3 separate regions of the Homo sapiens genome follow, and all the other regions are linked to region 3. Evidence: promoter capture Hi-C in human tissues and cell types (Jung and others, 2019). All regions are on one chromosome and are shown on one strand. The core of a region is centred on a gene start or on the middle of the fragment in contact, and the rest is flanking DNA. Distances in the headings are between cores, read along the strand shown. Region 1 has its middle 6.6 kb from the start of LINC01639. Region 2 overlaps SCUBE1 (signal peptide, CUB domain and EGF like domain containing 1). Region 3 holds the start of PNPLA3 (patatin like domain 3, 1-acylglycerol-3-phosphate O-acyltransferase).

Evidence for each region. The method cuts DNA at HindIII sites, captures the fragments that hold promoters and counts their contacts. A contact is called where the count stands out against the background at its distance.
Region 1: a fragment that was not itself captured here is called in contact with the fragment with the promoter of PNPLA3 in region 3 in 2 of the 25 tissues and cell types used here (dorsolateral prefrontal cortex and mesenchymal stem cells).
Region 2: a contact is called between a fragment that was not itself captured here and the fragment with the promoter of PNPLA3 in region 3, in 2 of the 25 tissues and cell types used here (IMR-90 fibroblasts and spleen).

The regions. Positions count from the first base shown.
Region 1 is chr22:43,392,190-43,395,299 of GRCh38, forward strand. No RefSeq gene overlaps it. Among named protein-coding and RNA genes, the nearest start is that of LINC01639, 6.6 kb to the right of the region's middle. The HindIII fragment of the contact is 9,041 bases long and covers 1-3,110 here.
Region 2 is chr22:43,260,408-43,263,402 of GRCh38, forward strand. SCUBE1 (signal peptide, CUB domain and EGF like domain containing 1) reads right to left here. Exons shown (of 22, transcript NM_173050.5): 5 at 2,313-2,438. It overlaps LOC124905129 (a long non-coding RNA gene), which reads left to right. Exons shown (of 2, transcript XR_007068120.1): 2 at 1-2,995. Among named protein-coding and RNA genes, the nearest start is that of SCUBE1-AS1, 14 kb to the right of the region's middle. The HindIII fragment of the contact is 8,212 bases long and covers 1-2,995 here.
Region 3 is chr22:43,922,317-43,925,472 of GRCh38, forward strand. It overlaps PNPLA3 (patatin like domain 3, 1-acylglycerol-3-phosphate O-acyltransferase), which reads left to right and starts at 1,489. Exons shown (of 9, transcript NM_025225.3): 1 at 1,489-1,782. The coding sequence starts at 1,596. RefSeq lists enhancers at 1,304-2,048, 2,049-2,791. The HindIII fragment of the contact is 10,497 bases long and covers 1-3,156 here.

The DNA.
Region 1 (3,110 bases), core at 334-2,833, 530 kb before region 3:
GGCTGAGGCAGGAGAATTGCCTGGACCCGGGAGGCGGAGGTTGCAGTGAGCTGAGATTGTGCCACTGCACTCCAGCCTGGGCAACAGAGGAAGACTCCGTCTCAAAAAAAAAAAAAAAAATTAAATGTGATTCATAGACAAGGAGGAAGGCCTGGCCAGGAACCCCATTCTTCCTCGAGCCCACGTGCTGCCCCACCAAGCCCCGCTCCGTTCCCTCCAGTGCATGGGGCTCCCTGGGATCTGGCAGCTGTCCTGACCCAGGGATTGTCCCATTCCCAGGGAGAGGGACTTGATGGCAAACCCAGGGCTCCCCAGGTGTCATGGGGCAGATGCTCCCTTCCCAGGGCCCCTCAGGTAGGGGGATTGGGAGTGGGGTGCTCAGGGCTGGAGCAATAACCAGGGTCCTGGGGCGGAGATCCAGGCACAGACACCAGGTGGCCCTGCTGGGGGCTCACGTATGAACATGCAAGTGCAAAAGCCCAGAGCAGGAGACAGCAGGTGCCCAGGCTCAGCCGGGGGTCACTGTGGTAGGGACCTTGCCAGATGGTGGGCAGCTTGAAGCAGCAAGGAATGAGTAAAGTCTGTAAAAGGAGAGAGAGAGAGAGAGAGAGAGAACGAGAGAGAGAGAGAACAACAGCACACGTATGTGTGTGCCGGAGTCAGTAGTGGGTGGGGAGGAATGACCATCAAGCCTTTACCATGTCCTTACCTGGCCTCTGTGATCTACTAGAGACCCCAAGACAGTCCCAGGTGGAAGGTATTATTATTTGCCATTTTACAGATGAAGATCCAGGCTCGGGGAGTCTCTGCTCCAAGCCTTCACGACAGGCAGGTCCTAAGCCTAGGTCTGTCTGTCTTTCTGTGTCTCCAAAACTCCCTCAAGAACATGGCCGTCAGGCCCAGTCTTCCTGTGGGATCCTTTCTTGGGATGAAATCTTCCCTCCCTCAAGTATCCCTCTAATGAAAAGCACCCTTGTCTTACCCCTGGAAACTCTCTTTCTCTATTTCTTCCTCCACCCCCAACCCTTGGCTTCACCCTCCTGTGGCCCTTTGTCCCAGGCCTCAGCCTCCAGCCCTTTCCCAGCCTGGGCCGGGCCACTGCCACCCCTCTATTCCCCACTCCCCTTTCCCCTGCTGGGCCCCTCTCAGGAGGCCCCCGGTGAGGTCATCCCTGTGTCAACAGGAGCTGCACAATGGGGCCGGCCTCTTTCTGCTGAAGAGGGAGAATTGGGGTGGGGGAGAAAAAGGCAGGAGACTCTGCAATTACAGGGTCCACAATGGGGCCGTAGTCGAGGGGGCTGGACTGGGTGGCGGGGGGGGGACCTCTGCTAATTAGAGCCGCTGCATGGGGACTCTGTGGTGGGGGAGGGGCTGTGGGCCAGGCAGGGCCTGGGAAGATCAGCCCAGGTGGGTCCTGACGTTCCTAGTTCAATTGTTCGTTCGTTCATCTGTGCCGTAAATATTGCCTGAGCACCTACTATGTGTCAGGCACTGTGTGAAACACCAAGGACACAGCAGGGACCTCAGGGATGGGGCCCTACCCTGATGGAGCCAACCCCGTAGAGGGTAAGACAGAAAGTAAACAGATAAACACACACAACAGATAAATGTGTGCCAGACTTTCAAGACGAGTCGAGTGCCATGAAGGAAATAAAATATCATGAAATCTCAGAGCAGTAGGGGTGTGTGTGGGGTGGGGAAGCAATATTAGCAAGGTGATCAGGGTGGGCTTCTTGGAGGAGGTGATATCTGAGGTGAGATCTGGAAAGCAAGACATGGCAGCCATGTCACAACCAGGGGAGAAATGTTCTGGGCAGAGGACATAGCAGTTCAGTGCAAAGGCCCTGAGGCAGGAACACCCCTGGCATGTGTGAGACCAGAAACATGGTGGGTGTGGCAGGAGAGCAGTGGGTTGGGAAGAGGGGTGGATGGTGGAGAAGGGGAGCTGTGAACAGCTGTGGTGTCATGGAGCTGGCTCTCATCATGCATGACAGTCATCTGTGCATAGCTATTCCCGACACTGCTTAGGTTGGTAGCTTGTGGTAGCTTGAAATCGATCATAGTGGGAGTATTTACACCATGGAAATTGGCAGATGATACAAATCAGGGTTTCTTTATTTTTTTATTTTTGAGACAGAGTCTTGCTCTGTCACCCAGGCTGGAGTGCAGTGGCACAATCTCAGCTCACTGCAACCTCCGCCTCCTGGGTTCAAGCGATTCTCCTGCCTCAGCCTCTTCAGTAGCTGGGATTACAGGCATGCACCACCACACCTGGCTAATATTTGTATTTTTAGTAGAGACAGGGTTTCACCATGTTGGCCAGGCTGGTCTCGAACTCCTGACCTCAGGTGATGCACCCACCTTGGCCTCCCAAAGTGCTGGGATTACAGGCGTGAGCCACCGGGCCTGGCCAAATCAGGGTTTCGAGCGAGATGGCGGGAGACGGAGAATGCATAGGTGTGTAAGAGCATTTTTTCTCTACTATTCACAAATCCAAGGAGTGAAGGGCTAATGAGACTGACATTAATGAAGCTTCTACTGTGTGCTGACACCTCCTAGACCCCTTCATGCACCTTTTCCCATTTAATTCTTGCAAAGAGGTCCAGAGAGGTTAAACAGCATGACCAAGGTGGCCCAGCTCTTACATCAGGGAGTCAGCTCTTGAGCTTATGTGTGCCTGACCCCCTCACCAGGCTCTTCCCACTTTGCCAGGCCTTTTTGCTCCCACATCCACCCTTCTTCATAAGCCAGCTGCATGCTATAGCACTCATCAAAGCCTTTCTCATGTAAGAGCTGGTGTGGGGGACCTGGATGGGGCAATGATAACAGGCACAGCTAATTTCCATTGAGTGCTTACCACCTGCTTGCTGCTGCCTGGAACTCCATCTTGGGTACTTTTTTCCACAGTCCTGTGGCACAGGGCCTGATGTTATCAGCCTCATTTTACAGATGAAGAAACTGAGGCTCAGAGAGGATGCCAGGCCTCCCCTAGGTGCCATGGTTCTCACCACACAGATGAGGGAATGAGGCTGGATCCCAGCTCCTCCTGAATCGCAGGCAGCCTTGGCCAGCAGGCTGCTGGGCTTTCTCTGCCTCCCTTCTTCTTCCTG
Region 2 (2,995 bases), core at 249-2,748, 660 kb before region 3:
GGCCCTGGAGTGGGTCCTGGGCTCTGGACGGATGACAGCTTGGTTCAGAGCCCTGCAGTCCTCTTGAGCCACAGAGGCTGCTTGGCTAAGCCAGGCCTCAGCCCCCAACCCAGCTTGAGATCTGGAATTTCCTGGAATGCAAGTGACTTCAAGGACTAGAGCGAATGCCTCAGAGCTAACTTCTCACCAACCTTGTCTCATTAACCTCACAGAAGCAGCCAAAGCTGGGCTCGCTGGGCAGCTGCCTGTGCAGGCCCTTCACGGGAGGCCTCAGGCCCCAGAAATCACATCGGGCTCTCCATACCTTGGTGATATTCAGCCACCCACGGAGAGGGTGGGACTGCTGTTTCTTAAGCCAGCACATATTCCAGGCAAGGGTTGAGCCCTTCCCTGGCGGGGGCAGCTGGGGTGAGGGTTGTGGGGGGTGTCCTAGCTGCTCACAGGGCCCTGCCTAGTCCCTGACCTCTCGCACCAGGCTGGCGCTCAGAAGATGCTCTCTGAGCAAACTCCTCCTTGTAGTGCTTGTGTCAGATGTACTATGGGGTCAGGGAGCAAGCCGCCCACAGTCAGGCCACCTGCAGCCTCTCCCTGGCACTGGGCTCAAGGCCCAGTTGGAGCAGGCCCTCGGCCTGTCTTCTGCCTAAGAGAATGCACTGTCCTTCTGGCCAGGGCTATCCACAACCCTGCTGACGCCATGCATTTTTGACCTTGGCCTTTCTCGTGAGGAAACTCAGATCACACAACACGGGGGACTGGGAAAGCTGGAGTCAGCATTTCTGTTCTGAGGTGGCCGGGGGCAGAAGACTTCTCTGCAGCTAAAGGAATCCATCTGGTGTGGAGACGGGGCCTGGATGGAGCCCTGGGGCTGGAGGCTGGCACTTCCAATCGAGACTGCCCGTTTGGTCCTGCCCTGGGTGACAGTATACAGGCTTATCTTGGCCACCCCACAGGAAAGAGCCAGGAACACAGAGAAAGGTGGTCCGCCTCTTGGACCATACCTGGGACAGAAGGAAGCACCTTCACTTTGAAGAATGGATGAATCACATCTGGTACACGTGGGTCCCCAGGGCCTTGGTGACTATTCTAGGAGACCATGAGTTGGGAAAGGTATGGCAAGGCACCCACAGGAGAGCTGATGACAACTGAGAGGATCAGTGACTGTGGATGATGGACCAACAAGGGCCAGCTGTCCTCTCCACAGAAAGATGGGTGGAAGAACGGTCATTTTCTTTATGACAGCGGGGCAGCCTCAGTCTCTCATTTCCACAGCTAGGGTGAGGACCACCTTCTCTATTGGGAGTTGGAACTGGACACTTCTCCCTAGCATTTTTCTGCATTAGAATGTGGGCTTGATATGAGGCACTTGTCTCTTGCCAGAGATGGAAAGTGCTTCCAGCAGTCTTCTTTGGCTCTTTGTAAAAAGGGCAAATATGACATCGCTTTGGGTATCCCTGGTGCCCTCATCTCCCACGAGGAGAGGCCCACCCCACCATCTCCCCCACGTAGCTGTGGGGAGGATGCACTGGCTCCCAAGCTTCTGAGTTCAGCCATCGTTCTACTTGGTTTCCTGGCTCCTACTCCTACTGGGGAATGGGGTGACCCCATTAAGAGGCTGGACTACACGTGGGCCCCGTAGGCAGACCACCAAGCAGATCCTGAAATGGTGTCTTTGGCCAGAGGCCTCATTCAGCCCAGATCTCCCAGAATATCACCATCTGCAGTTAGCCTTGCAGGGGTCAAATTGTGAGTTCTGATCTTTACATTTTATTTTAGAGATGGGGTCTTGCTGTATTGTCCAAGCTGGACTCAAAGTCGGGCTAGAGTGATCCTCTGGCTTCTGCCTCCCAAGAAGCTGGGACTATAGGTGTGCAGAGTTCTGATCTTTGGTCCCGGAAAAAAGGTCAGCACAGCCCGGAATGGGACCACTTCAGAACCATACTCTTTTCCTTCTTTGTACTACTCATTACCAGGGGCTTCCCAGGCCCATCGAGAAACCTGGTCCTGTAGACCTCTGTGCCACGGCCCCACCATTCCTGCTGGACAGCTTAGGCTCAGGGGCTGCCATAAGATCCAGCCCAGCTCCTGGGGCTACACTGGTGGTGTCGTGCTTGGTGCGGAAAACCCCAAGGCTAGGGTTTACAACCCTTGTCCCTTATGCCCTATCAGGCCCCTTCCACAGGCCCTGCCCTTCTCTCCACCCCATGGGGCTGGGGACCCTCCCTGGCCAAAGTCCAGCAGACTGGACAGACCCTCCAGAAAGTAATGGCAGGAGACGCACGGGACGTTTGACCCATTTGTCTCCCTCTACCTACGTGTGCAGTCCTTCTGGTTTTGGGCAAGGTCAAAGCCGGGCCTGCAGTCGCAGGCCACCCCACCTTTGGGCGTCTCCCGGCAGATGTGGGCACAGCCATGGTCTTTGTTCATGCAGTTCATACCCTCTGGGAAGAGAGACAGACAAGAGACGGGTTGAAGACCAGGCAGAGAGGGAGAGAGAAAATTTCAGGCTGAAAGGGGATAGCCAATGATATGTAACAATCAAATGGGCTGTCATTGCATGTATCATGCACACACACGCACTTGCGCACACACACATATGCGTGTGTGCAGCAGCCATCTACATGGATATCCCTTAGGGAGAAAGCAAGGGCACGGTGCCTGGGTCTAGATTCAGGCTTTGCTCTGTGAGTTGCACTGTAAATGGCACCTCGTGACCCACGGAGACCAAGCTCTTGCTCTAGGTCAGATTGTGGGGCATGGTCTGTAGAACTACTTTTGTGTCAGGGTGATTTGCTCCCCTCTCCCGAGCCACCCATGGTTCTAGGGTACCCCCCACCCGCCCAGCAGACTGGATCTCCCCTCTCTGTCTGCCTGGAGTGGCTCATACCCCCTTCCGTTGACCTCAGTTGATGTTTATCTTCCTGGTGATTTGTGAGGCGTTTCTAGAATTTATGAGGTCAGGGGTCAAGTGAGAGGTTGTAGGTCACAAGTCCATCAA
Region 3 (3,156 bases), core at 239-2,738:
TCCTGGTCCACTCCAGCTGGGGGCGCTATGGCCCGGCAGACCAGGGTCCTCCAGTGAGGAGCTCTGGACCAAGGTCTAACTTGGCTCCATGTACTGCTGTGGGCTTGCTCCACCCAGTGCCAGGGGTAGGTCAAGGTCAAGGGGCCTCTTAGGCATCTCCTAAGGGCATGCTACTATCCAAATGTTTGTGTCCCCACTAAAGGTCATCTGTTGAAATCCTACACCTTAAGGTGATGATCTTTGGAGGCGGGGGCCTTTGGAAGGTGATTTGATGAGAGGGTGGCACCCTTATGAATGGGATTGGTGCCCTTATCAAAGAGGCCCAGAGGTGAGGATGTGGCAAGATGGCACCTTCTACGAGCCATACCTCTCACCAGGGACCAAATCTGCTGGTATCTTGAACTTGGGCTTTCCAGCCTCCAGAACTGTGAGACAGAGAAATAAGCCAGGCGAAGTGGCTCACCCCTGTAATCCCAGCATTTTGGGAGGCTGAGGTGGGTGATGACTTGAGGTCAGGAGTTCTAGACTAGCCTGGCCAACATGGTGAAACCCCATCTCTACTAAAAATACAAAAAATTAGTCAGGCATGGTGGCGCATGCTTGTAATCCCAGCTACTCGTGAGGCTGAGGCAGGAGAATCCCTTGAACCCGGGAGGAAGAGGCTGCAGTGGGCCAAGATCGTGCCATTGCACTCCAGCCTGGGGGGAAAAAGATAGAAATAAATCTCTTGTTTGTAAGCCCCTCCGCTTTAAGGTGTTTTGTTTTCGCACCTGAACGGACTAAGGGACTAAGGGACCAGGAATCATCCAGGCCTCAGCTTCCCAAAGCACTCCCCACTCCCCAGTTCCTACAGGGCCCCGACCCCAGCCCCAGCACCCGTCATTCACATTTTTTACTTACAAAGGAAACTTTGAAATGGACACTTCCTGTTACTTTCATTCAATGAAAAAAATCCCCAGCACTTGAAGGCAATCATACAGAAAGCCTGCAACAACGCAGAGAGTAGACTCTTCAGGTGGTGGTGCCTGCTTTAGGCTGGCTCTCCCCGGGTCAAAAGGGACGTGATAAAGTGTTAAAGTGATGTTAAGGATCAAGTGGGCACCAACTGCGACTCCCCTCCCACCCCCCGACTTAACAGATGTCAAGGAAAACAGAAGGAAGCCGTTTCTCTCCAGGACATGCAGTGTCTGCTGGAGTTTTGGAAAAATGCTTTCTCTCGAGTCGCTGCGGGGAGCTCCCAGGCTGGACCCCCCCGCACAGGTCCTCCGCCATCGCCCTCCCAGCCCCCGCCCCCAATCCCCCTCCCAGACCCGGTCCCCGCCCCCATCCCCCGCCAGACGTCGTCCCCACCCCCATCCCCCTCCAAGCCCCGCCCGGGAGGGCGTCCTGCCCGCTCATTGGGCCTCCCGCCGGCTCATTTGCATGGTCCGAGGGGGGCGGGGCTGACGTCGCGCTGGGAATGCCCTGGCCGAGACACTGAGGCAGGGTAGAGAGCGCTTGCGGGCGCCGGGCGGAGCTGCTGCGGATCAGGACCCGAGCCGATTCCCGATCCCGACCCAGATCCTAACCCGCGCCCCCGCCCCGCCGCCGCCGCCATGTACGACGCAGAGCGCGGCTGGAGCTTGTCCTTCGCGGGCTGCGGCTTCCTGGGCTTCTACCACGTCGGGGCGACCCGCTGCCTGAGCGAGCACGCCCCGCACCTCCTCCGCGACGCGCGCATGTTGTTCGGCGCTTCGGCCGGGGCGTTGCACTGCGTCGGCGTCCTCTCCGGTATCCCGCTGGGTGCGTCTGGGGACGCTGCCCGGGCTCCACGTGCGGAGTGGGTGCCCCCTAGGCCGGGGAGCGGGGGATCCCCAGGGGTCGCGGGGCCCTGGAGGAGCGGGCATCGGACGCGGACACGGCGGGGTGCATCCCGAGGGCCCCCTCCGAGGCAGATGCTTCCTGCGGGGGCGCTGTTCCTGGGCCCGGGAAGGGGGCGTTGGAACCCCGAGCGGTCCGGGCCGAAGCCTGGGACTCTCGTGCGTCCCCACCCCTACCCCCATCAGGCGCCCGTGCATGAAGGGAGACCCTCACCTCCGGACTGAGAGTCGGAGCGTCTCGGAGCGACGGGGAGTAGGGAGCGGGACCCGGGGCGGAGGGTAGTGCTGGCCCCTGCGGACTCCGGGTCCCCTGTGTCCTCTCGGGAGGGGCTGGACGGGCTGAGCTGCCGAGGGGCCGATTTGCCCTGGGCCGGACAAAGAGTGGGGCTTTGGCCGGTCCCCCACGGTGGGCTCCTTCCCTCTGGGGATTGAGGGACTCAAGACACCCCGCGCCTGCGCTTTTCTTTTCTTTTTTTCTTTTTTTTTTTTTGAGACGGAGTTTCGCTCAGTCGCCCAGGCTGGAGTGCAGTGGCGTGATCTCAACTCACTGCAAGCTCCACCTCCCAGGTTCACGCCATTCTCCTGCCTCAGCCTCCCGAGTAGCTGGGACTACAGGCGCCAGCCACCAAGCCCGGCTAATTTTTTGTATTTTTTAGTAGAGACGGGGTTTCACCGTGTTAGCCAGGATGGTCTCGATCTCCTGACCTCGTGATCTGCCCACCTCGGCCTCCCAGAATGCTGGGGTTACAGGCGTGAGCCACTGCTCCCTGCTGCCTACGCTCTCTGGGTCGCAGCCCAGCCTTCTGGGGGCTGGGTAGCCTCCCAGAAGGGCAACCCTGGGCATCCTCCAGGGCAGGCTAACTGGAGTCTAGTGGGGAGGGGTACCTTGAAAGAGGAAAGTTGTTTCCTCCTCCTCCTCCTCCTCCAGTGTTTGGGACCCTTCCTGGGGGCTGGAGTGCATCCCTGGACACCCCCCAATCCCATCCTCTTCTCTAGTTTCCACTGACCTAGGCCCACCCTCCCCTCTCCGGCTCAGTACTCCTGGAAATGAGATTCCGTACATTTGAATCTTGTCCTAATGAAATATTTGTCCATGTGGGTACCTGTGTGTGTGTGGTGGGGGTGCAGACGGAGGGTTTGTTTCTCACTAGCTGGAACTACTGGGGTGTGGTATGCTTCCTGGGAATTTGTGTGCCACAGTCCTGGAGGCGAGGAGGGGGTTGTGAGCCAGTAGGCAGGGGCTGGGGCAAGTAGCATTGTGAAGCTATTGACACCCAGACGTCCCCAGGCAGGAGAT